Linked DNA regions of Homo sapiens: regions 1 and 2 are each linked to region 3. The links are contacts of gene promoters, found by promoter capture Hi-C in human tissues and cell types (Jung and others, 2019). All regions are on one chromosome and are shown on one strand. The core of a region is centred on a gene start or on the middle of the fragment in contact, and the rest is flanking DNA. Distances in the headings are between cores, read along the strand shown.

Evidence for each region. Contacts are between HindIII fragments. The study calls those that stand out against the background at their distance.
Region 1: a contact is called between a fragment that was not itself captured here and the fragment with the promoter of ZFP90 in region 3, in 6 of the 25 tissues and cell types used here (H1 embryonic stem cells, heart left ventricle, liver and 3 more).
Region 2: a fragment that was not itself captured here is called in contact with the fragment with the promoter of ZFP90 in region 3 in 14 of the 25 tissues and cell types used here (H1 embryonic stem cells, IMR-90 fibroblasts, adrenal gland and 11 more).

What each region holds. Positions count from the first base shown.
Region 1 is chr16:68,928,207-68,931,106 of GRCh38, forward strand. TANGO6 (transport and golgi organization 6 homolog) reads left to right here. Exons shown (of 18, transcript NM_024562.2): 14 at 2,032-2,089. Among named protein-coding and RNA genes, the nearest start is that of TANGO6, 86 kb to the left of the region's middle. The HindIII fragment of the contact is 4,152 bases long and covers 1-2,900 here.
Region 2 is chr16:68,795,130-68,798,240 of GRCh38, forward strand. The region is part of intron 2 of CDH1 (cadherin 1); the gene reads left to right. Among named protein-coding and RNA genes, the nearest start is that of TANGO6, 47 kb to the right of the region's middle. RefSeq lists enhancers at 76-576, 577-1,077. The HindIII fragment of the contact is 4,503 bases long and covers 1-3,111 here.
Region 3 is chr16:68,537,567-68,540,671 of GRCh38, forward strand. ZFP90 (ZFP90 zinc finger protein) reads left to right here and starts at 1,725. Exons shown (of 5, transcript NM_001305203.2): 1 at 1,725-1,913; 2 at 2,192-2,259. The coding sequence starts at 2,227. The HindIII fragment of the contact is 20,432 bases long and covers 1-3,105 here.

The sequences.
Region 1 (2,900 bases), core at 159-2,658, 390 kb after region 3:
TTTTGTGAGGAGGCAACACTTAGACACAGGAAAGATTTATTTAGACACAGGAAAGACTTAAACTCCTCAAATGAATATGAACTGAGTGCCAATTTTTTTTTTTTTTTTTTTTTTTTGAGATGGAATCTCGCTCTGTCCCCCAGGCTGGAGTGCAGTGGTGCAATCTCGGCTCACTGCAAGCTCCGCCTTCTGGGTTCACACCATTCTCCTGCCTCAGCCTCCCGAGTAGCTGGGACTACAGGTGTCTGCCACCACCCCCGGCTAATTTTTTGTATTTTTAGTAGAGACGGGCACCATGTTAGCCAGGATGGTCTCGATCTCCTGACCTCGTGATCCACCTGCCTCGGCCTCCCAAAGTGCTGGGATTACAGGCGTGAGCCACCACACCCATCCTTCAAAATTTTTGCATGCAAGAAATGCTGTGGGCAGTCAGGAAAAAGAGAAAGTTGAAATCTTCTGGAGGATGTAGGCCTTAATATGGCCATAACAAACTAGTAAAGTTTGAGCAGATGAAAGAGGGGTGGGATAGCTTGAACAAATTCCCAGAGATGGGAAAGTACCTTTTGTGATAAATAGGTCTGCTTCAACACTGTGACCCAGCCCAGATAAGCCACCTGTTTTCTCTGGGCATCTTTAGTGGGGCGTTGGGCAAAACTGGGTCTCCTCCCCTCTTCTCTCCCTTCATCGTGGTGAAATAGCTGTTTTTTGTTTTGTTTTGTTTTGTTTTTTTGAGACAGGGTCTCGCTCCGTCGCCCAGGCTGGAGTGCAGTGGTGCGATCTCAGCTCACTGCAATTTCCACCTCCTGGGTTCAAGTGATTCTTCTGCCTCAGCCTCCCAAGTAGCTGGGATTACAGGTGCCCACCAACACACCCAGCTAATTTTTGTACGTTTAGTTGAGATGAGGTTTCACCATGTTAGCCAAGCTGGTGTTGAACTCCTCACATCAAGTGATTCACCTGCCTCGGCCTCCCAAAGTGCTGGGATTACAGGCATGAGCCACCGCGCCTGGCCTTAAATATCCTTTTATACACCTATTTGAAGGTGAATTCAATGAACATCTTGGAATTTTTTTTAGCTTAATTAAACCTTCTTCTGCTGTACATAATTGGTCACCAAGTCCTGTCAATTCTTTTTTCAAAGAAGTCTTTCAAATGTATCTTATCCTCTTTATTTCCATGGCCATTACCCTAAATTAAGCTTCCCTTGCTTACTCCATAAAAGATTCCCTACCTTCAAAACTGGCCGTCTTCCTAACTGGGGTAATTTTAGGCTCTCCGTACATACTTCACATGTAGAGACCAGCAGCATCAAGTTGATGTCAAGAATTACTGTGCCAACGAAGAACACAGCATTATATATGGAGCAGACACTTCCGTCTTCCTTTCTCTGGCTCTCATGTTGGGGCCTAAACCTAACATATCATGTAATATCTTCCAGATAAGCTGTACTCACTGTAGTTGATACCCCTGATAGGTTCCTAAATTGTAAGATATTTTGAGAGTAATTTGTTACTAATATCAATTAAAGTGCTGAAATTTACAAGATTTTCAAAAATAAATTAGAACAGATTCAAAGTTATCTCAATAATAACATCTCTATCTCACTTGCACTTCCATATGCTTTGTGAGTACAAGAGAAAAGGATCAAATTGCAGCAAATGTGCCATCCATTGCACATAACCCCAAACCTTGTCTCTTGTGTGTCACACCCCGTAGTCTGTCATGCCATATGTGAGAATGTTATTCACCATGGCTGTCATGGAAAAATGTTGAGGATTGTTCTTCCATCGGTTTCCAGGACTACTGCTGGAAGAATACAAGTATCTCCCCCAGTCTCTATACTTTTTTAATGGTTATAAAAATGAGACTTAAGCATATATGCCATTTCCCCCACAAAACTCTGTCAGACCAGTTTCTACCCAAGAAAAACAAGAAGCGAAGCATTTACTCCTTTGAGCTGCTGATAAGGGAGCCTCTTAAATCTTCCTTGTTCTTTGTAAATCTTATCACTGCTGTATTTTGTGGTTCCAGATATTCTTGGAAAACTTGGAACATGAAGACACTTTTGTATATCTATCTGCAATTCAGGGTAAGTCAGTCCTGGTTAAAGGACTTTAAGTATGTGGACCAGAGACTGTATCATGTTTATTTGCACAAAATCTCTAAAGTCCTAGGGCCAGGAGACTACTGGTCATTTTGTCCGTCTTCCTGCCTCCTAGCTAGGACACTTTAAGTCATAATAATAATATTCCTGAAGGGTTTCCAAAGAGTCCCTATAGAGTTTCAGTGTCTCATAATGATGAGGAAGTTTTTATTAATGTTTACATATTCTGTAGATTAAATCGTATTTCCTCTAATTCAAGGAGGTAAAGAATGACTCACACATGAACTCTTATCACATTAACCTTTTATGTTAGTCGGCTACTGTCTTTTTTTTTTTTTTTTTTGAGACAGAGTCTCGCTCTGTCACCCAGGCTGGAGTGCGGTGGTGTGATCTCAGCTCACTGCAACCTCTGCCTCCCGGGTTCAAGTGATTCTCCTGCCTCAGCCTCCCAAGTAGCTGGGATTACAGGTGCCCGCCACCACGCCCAGCTAATTTTTTATATTTTTAGTAGAGACAAGGTTTCACCATGTTAGTCAGGCTGGACTCGAACTCCTGACCTCCAGTGATCCACCCACCTTGGCCTTCCAAAGTGCTGGGATTACAGGCGTGAGCCACCACGCCCAGCCTCAACTACTGTCTATATGCACCTTTGCTCTCTCGTTAAGCTAAAAGAACTCAGGGTATTAAATATTTTCTTATCAAAAAATTTTTTGCAGTAACTTTATTTCTCTTTTTATGGTTCTTTGTTGTTCTCCACATCCCCTTTAACTTGTGGGCTCCAAATCTAGAGAGGATG
Region 2 (3,111 bases), core at 584-3,083, 260 kb after region 3:
CTGATTTCATGAATACTCATTAAAAGAACACATGCCAGAATCCCCAGTGTCATCTAAGAAAATAGCCTGGAAGGAGATCTTATAGGCAGCAGTATCTGTGGAGATGGAGTTAGAAACACTGTCCCTAACCAGCAAAAAGAAAAATGCCTAACTAGCTGAATGAGGCTGTCTCCCCAGGATTCCTTTCATCCATCAAGTTAGATTTCTTTTTTTTTATTTTTATTTTAAGAGATGGGGTCTTACTATGTTGCCCAGGCTAGTCTCAAACTCCTGGGCTCAAGTGATCCTCCTGCCTTGGCTTCGCAAAATGGTGAGATTACAGGTATGAGCCACCATGCCTGGCTAGTTCTCTGATTTTTTTGTTTGTTTGTTTGTTTTTGAGATGGAGTCTTTTTTGCTCTGTCACCTACACTGGAGCGCAATGGTGCAATCTCTGCTCACTGCAACCTCTGCCTCCTGTGTTCGAGCAATTCTCCTGTCCTGGCCTTCTGAGTAGCTGGGATTACAGGTGCCCGCCACCATGCCTGGCTAATTTTTTGTATTTTCAGTAGAGACGGGGTTTCACCATGTTGACCAGGCTGGTCTTGAACTCCTGACCTCAGGTGATCCACCTGGCTCGGCCTCCCAAAGTGCTGGGATTACAGGCATGAGCCACCATGCCCAGCCAGTTCTCTGATCTTGTCCTCCAGTTTTTATGTGTAACTGAGGCTGAGCTCTCAAGTTCAAATGGTCTTTGAATAAAGCTAAATGCAGGCCGGGTGCGGTGGCTTATGCCTGTAATCCCAGCACTTTGGGCGGCCAAGGCAGGCGGATCACAAGGTCAGGAGTTCGAGGTTATCCTGGCCAACATAGTGAAACCCCGTCTCTACTAAAAATACAAAAGATTAGCCGGGCGTGGTGGCAGGCACCTGTAATCCCAGCTACTCGGGAGGCTGGGGCAGGAGAATGGCTTGAACCCGGGAGGTGGAGGTTGCAGTGAGTTGAGATCCTGCCATGGCACTCCAGCCCGGGTGACAGTGCGAGACTCTGTCTTTAAAAACAAAAAAAAAAGAATTGCTAAATGCAGTATTCTTTGGTGTTCGCTGTGGGAAATGTGTTCTGATGAGAGGGAGGCAATCCATAATGTGCCCCTTTGTATGCAGGGTGGGCAAAACACTGCTTCCAACTAGTTACGTCTAAGATACTAGGTTATCCCACTGGTTACCAAACAACTCAACTATGGTTTGCTGCCTTCCATAGCTGGCCCTGTCCTTAAATCCCAACATCGTCTGAAAATAATATAGAAGCTTTTGAGACTGTCTTGTTTCTACCCACTCACATTCCAGTTATGGGACCAGGCGGGCGTGGGAGAAGAAACGGGATCGTCAAAGTGGGACTGTTCCGTGTGGCATGATGGCAATTTCAAGCAAGGAATGTTGCTGAATGCTCAGAGCCTGCCCCAGGACCAAAAGCTTTTCATGAACTTGGGTTTCATTTGTATTTGAACATCAGTCATCTCTCTTGGGGTCCTCTCTTGAAAGCTACTTTTGCCCAGTAGGCTAGAAAGTGGGGCACCGTAGGTTTAATAGCAGCATGCAGGGATGACAGAGTATTAAAAACACTTTTTAAAAGTCATTCTTACTAGTTTTTGTCATGAAAAAAAAAAGAATTCATTCTAATTGTAACAGGCCAAGTAATACAAGGATATATAAGGAAAATATGTTGTTGTTGTTTTCAAACTGCCTCCTGGCCAGGCACAATACTTGTATCTGTAATCCCAGCACTTTGGGAGGCTGAGGTTGGTGGATCGCTTGAGGCCAGGAGTTCAAGACCAGCCTGGGCAACGTGGCAAAACCCCATCTAGTCCTGTAAACATAAAATTACATTTTTTGCTGAAATACAAAAAATACAAAAATTAGCTGGGTGTGGCAGCACATGCTTAAAATAGAGCATGGCACATTAATATTCTACACATGTTTAAAATACTAATAAAATAGGCCAAGCATGATGGCTCATGCCTGTAATCCCAGAACTTTGGGAGGCTGAGGCAGGTGGATCACCTGAGGTCAGAAGTTCATGACCAGGCTTGGCATCATAGCGAGACCCTGTCCCTACAAACAATAATTAAAAATTTGCTGCGGTGGAGTACACCTGTAGTCTCAGCTACTCTGGAGGATGAGGTGGGAGGATGGTTTGAGCCCAGGAAGCTGAGGCTGCGGTGAGCTAGCGTTTGTGCCACTGCACTTTAGCCTGGGTGACAGAGTAAAACCCTTTCTCAAAAAATTAAAATGAGGCTGGGCTCAGTCATTCACTTCTGTAATCCCAGCACTTTGGGAGGCCAAAGCGGGAAGATGGCTTGAGCCCAGGAGTTTGTGAGCAGCCTGGGCAACGTAGTCAGACCCCATCTCTACAATAAATAAAATTAGCCAGGCATGGTGGCATGTACCTGTAGCCCCAGCTACTCAGGAGGCTGAAGCAGGAGGATTGCTTGAGCCCCGAAAGCCAAGGCTGCAGTGAGCAGTGTTTGCACCACTGCATTCCACCCTAGGTGACAGAGACCTGTCTCAAAAAGCACACAAATAAAATTAAATAAAATCTGAATAAAATAGTTCATAAAAGCTAATTGAAGCTTAGTTGAGGCTGCAGTTTTTGATGATGGTGATGATATTGTAATGAAAAGACTTTCCCAGCTGGGCACAGTGGCTCACACCTATAATCCCAGCAGTTTGGGAGGCAGAGGCGGGCAGATCACTTGAGGTCAGGAGTTCGAGACCAGCCTGGCCAACATGGTGAAACCTTGTCTCTACTAAAAATACAAAAATTAGCTGGGCGTGGTGGTGTGCACCTGTAATCCCCGCTACTCGGGAGGCTGAAGCAGGAGAATTGCTTGAATCTGGGAGGCAGAGGTTGCAGTGAGCCCAGATTGCACCATTGCACTCCAGCCTGGGTGACAGAGTGACACTCTGTCTCAAAAAAAAAAAAGACTTTCCCACATGGAGATGGCCAGTAGTGGGGAGTGGGGTCTTAGCTTCTTTTGTTGGGATTTGGTTTTTACACCAAGTCACCAAATAAGTTTATGAAAGGTGGGCATACTGGGTTAAAGAACACTTAGACCCTTGTTAGCTTTATTTT
Region 3 (3,105 bases), core at 475-2,974:
ATTTTTATATATATTTTTTGAGACAGTCTCGCTTTGTCGCCCAGGTCGGAGTGCTGTGGTGAAATCACAGCCCACCACAACCTCTGCTTCCCGGGTTCAAACGATCTTCCCACCTCAGCCTCCCAAGTAGCTGGGACCACAGGCGCACACTATTGCAACCAGTTAATGTTTGTATTTTTTGTAGAGACAGGGTTTTGCCATGTTGCCCAAGCTGGTCTTTTAATTCCTGGGCTCCTCCCTCCTCAGCCTCCCTGTGCTATTGACGTGTTATTTCATTACTTGTTAGCCCCTTGCGCAGGATTTTGTGTTTGGGACAAGCCAACAGTGATGGAAATTTTCTCCCTTTTTTGTTTTGTTTTTTTTGAGATGGAGTTTTGCTGTTGTTGCCCAGGTTGGAGTGCAATGGTGCAATCTCGGCTCACCACAACCTCTGCCTCCCAGATTCAAGCGATTCTCCTGCCTCAGCTTTCTGAGTAGCTGGGATTACAGGCATGCGCCACCAAGCCTGGCTAATTTTGTATTTTTAGTAGAGACGAGCTATCTCCATGTTGGTCAGGCTGGTCTCGAACTCCTGACCTCAGGTGATCCGCCAGCCTCAGCCTCCCAAAGTGCTGGGATCACAGGCTTGAGCCACCGCACCCGGCATAAAGCATTTATTTTTGAATGTTCATATTTTTGATAAAGCAGTGTGACATCAGGAACATTTCGTTGCAGTCATTTTCTACCATGTTGGTATGCAATGCTCTAATGTTAAGAAATCAAGCTGAAATCTAGGAAATGTAGCCTGAATGTCTGTGATATATAAGACATAATTACATAAACGTAATAGCTGTATCTAAAAGTTGACCTATCTTTGTGTTGAAAATTTCCATCGGGCCGGGCGCGGTTGCCCATGCCTGTAATCCCAGCACTTTGGGAGGCCGAGGCGAGTTCGAGACCAGCATGACCAACATGGAGAAAACCTGTCTCTACTAAATATACAAAATTAGACGGGCCTGGTGACGCATCGCATGCCTGTAATCCCAGCTACTCGGGAGGCTGAGGCGGGAGAATCGCTTGAACCCAGGAGGCGGAGGCTGCGGTGAGCCAAAATCGCGCCATTGCACTCCAACCTAGGCAACAAGAGCGAAACTGTGTCTCAAAAAAAAAAAAGAAAATTTCCATCATTGTTTGCTTGTCCCAAACAAAATCCTGCGTAAGGGGATACGAAGTAATGAAATAACACGGCAGTAGATCTGCCTTTGCACATTGCTCAGGAGGCCACGGATTTGTCCGAAGTTTCTTTTTTCTCTAAAATGAGAAATGGAAAATTGCCTTTTGAAGAAGATGTAAATGCCCCACCCTCTGACGCTGTCTCACTCCCTTCCTGTGTCACTCTTACCGCTGAAGTCAGGACCTGACATTATCTTGTTGACATGTTTGCGTTTTTATCGTCAGCCTCGTCGAAAGGGGCGTACGATTGCTCCCCGAAACCAGGGTCTTTCCCGGCCGATTCCCCAGCTAGCAACAAGCCCCTTGCAAAGAGGAGGCGGACAGTGACTGGAATACAGGGACACGCACACTCGAGCCACACTGGCCGCCTCCCTCGGCCCTCGCAAGGGTCCCTAACGCGCCTTCGGAAGCCGCCTAGGCGGGGCCTGCGCGCGCGGGCCTCTGGGAAGTGTAGTTCGCGCGCCCGGCGTGGACCCGGGGTTGCAGGAGCGAGGCTCCGAGTGCGCAGGCGCACTTCCAGTTCTGCCCCACCGCTGCGGCCATTGTCCGACCCCGGTGCGGCTGAGGCCCCTTTGGGCAGCCCCTCCGCAGATCAGAATTGGAGATAACCGAGGCTTCGGCGGGGGCGGGAGGAGCTGCCCGAGGCTCTGGGTGGGCCGGAGGTCGCGAAATCCGGAGCCCCCCAGAGGCGGTGATTCTGAGTGCGCGGGTCTGGGCGGGACCCCTCCTGGGTTTGGCGGGTGTCAGCCGGGCCTCGCCCACCACCCTGCGAAGGGGACTGGGCGTGGCCGGAGGGGGGTGTCCGGGAGGCCGCTGAGCCTTTCATTTCGGGGATGGGGAGCGGCAGGCCCGGGCTGGTTCCACGGTCCTCGCCACCATCTCCCCTGGAGATGTGGTTTAGGGGCGGAGGTGGGGCGGGGCGGGGCGGGGTGGGGTCGGTGTTGCAGCGGGGTGAGTGGGCCCTGTCCTTTCTCCCCAGCTCCTGCCCCGGAGCCGGGCCCTGGCGAGGCAGGAATGGCCCCGAGGCCTCCGACCGCCGCGCCCCAGGTGAGCAACGCGTTCCTAACCTCCTGGGCATCCCATCCATCTATCCATCCCATCTCCCAAGGGTGTTTGGAGCAGTCATTGTTCTCTGCCTGGCGACTCCCTTACTTGCTTGGCTCGATCGGAGCCTCCTGGCCATGGAAAACCCCAGGCTTTGGGGAGCTGGATTCCCAAAGGGGAGGCTGCTCTGTGGGGTAGAGAGGGCCAGTGTGGTGCGATCTTGTGGGAGGAGTTGAGATTGGATGCGTTGGGAAGTGTCAGTTTTGAGAGTCCTGAATGCCACGCCAGTTTTTTGAACTCTTGTCAATAAGAAATGGAGAGAGTGGGGTCACAGGATGGAACACTGTAGAGGAGGAAGTGACTGTCGGCAAGTGTGGAGAGAGGAGCCCCAGCTTCTGACCCAGGGCCCATAGAGAGTCCGTAAGGGGCCGTAGAAGCCTGGTTAGAACATGTCTAGGAAGAGGCTGGAGATGGGCTTTCTTGGGCAAGGAGGCAAAAACAAAACAAAATAAAAAACAACCAAAAATAAAACCAGGGCTGATTCTCCCAGAGCTTTTTGTGTCTGTCCTTTTCTGCTTTAACAAAAATGTAATAGAGCAACTCACTCCCCACCGCCAGAAGTCCAGCCTTCACCTTAATGTGAGGCTGATTCGTGAACCCATTTATTCTTGTGGCAGAGGGGGCATTTTCTAGAAGCGTCACAACTCTAAGGTTATCCATTGATTTACATATTGGTGAAAATACATCAAGATCCAGATGGTATCTGTATCTTTGAATCTACATTCTCTTTAGAATTAAGGGAAAATGACAGATTGTAGTTGCTAGGTGTGTGAGACATCAAGATCAATT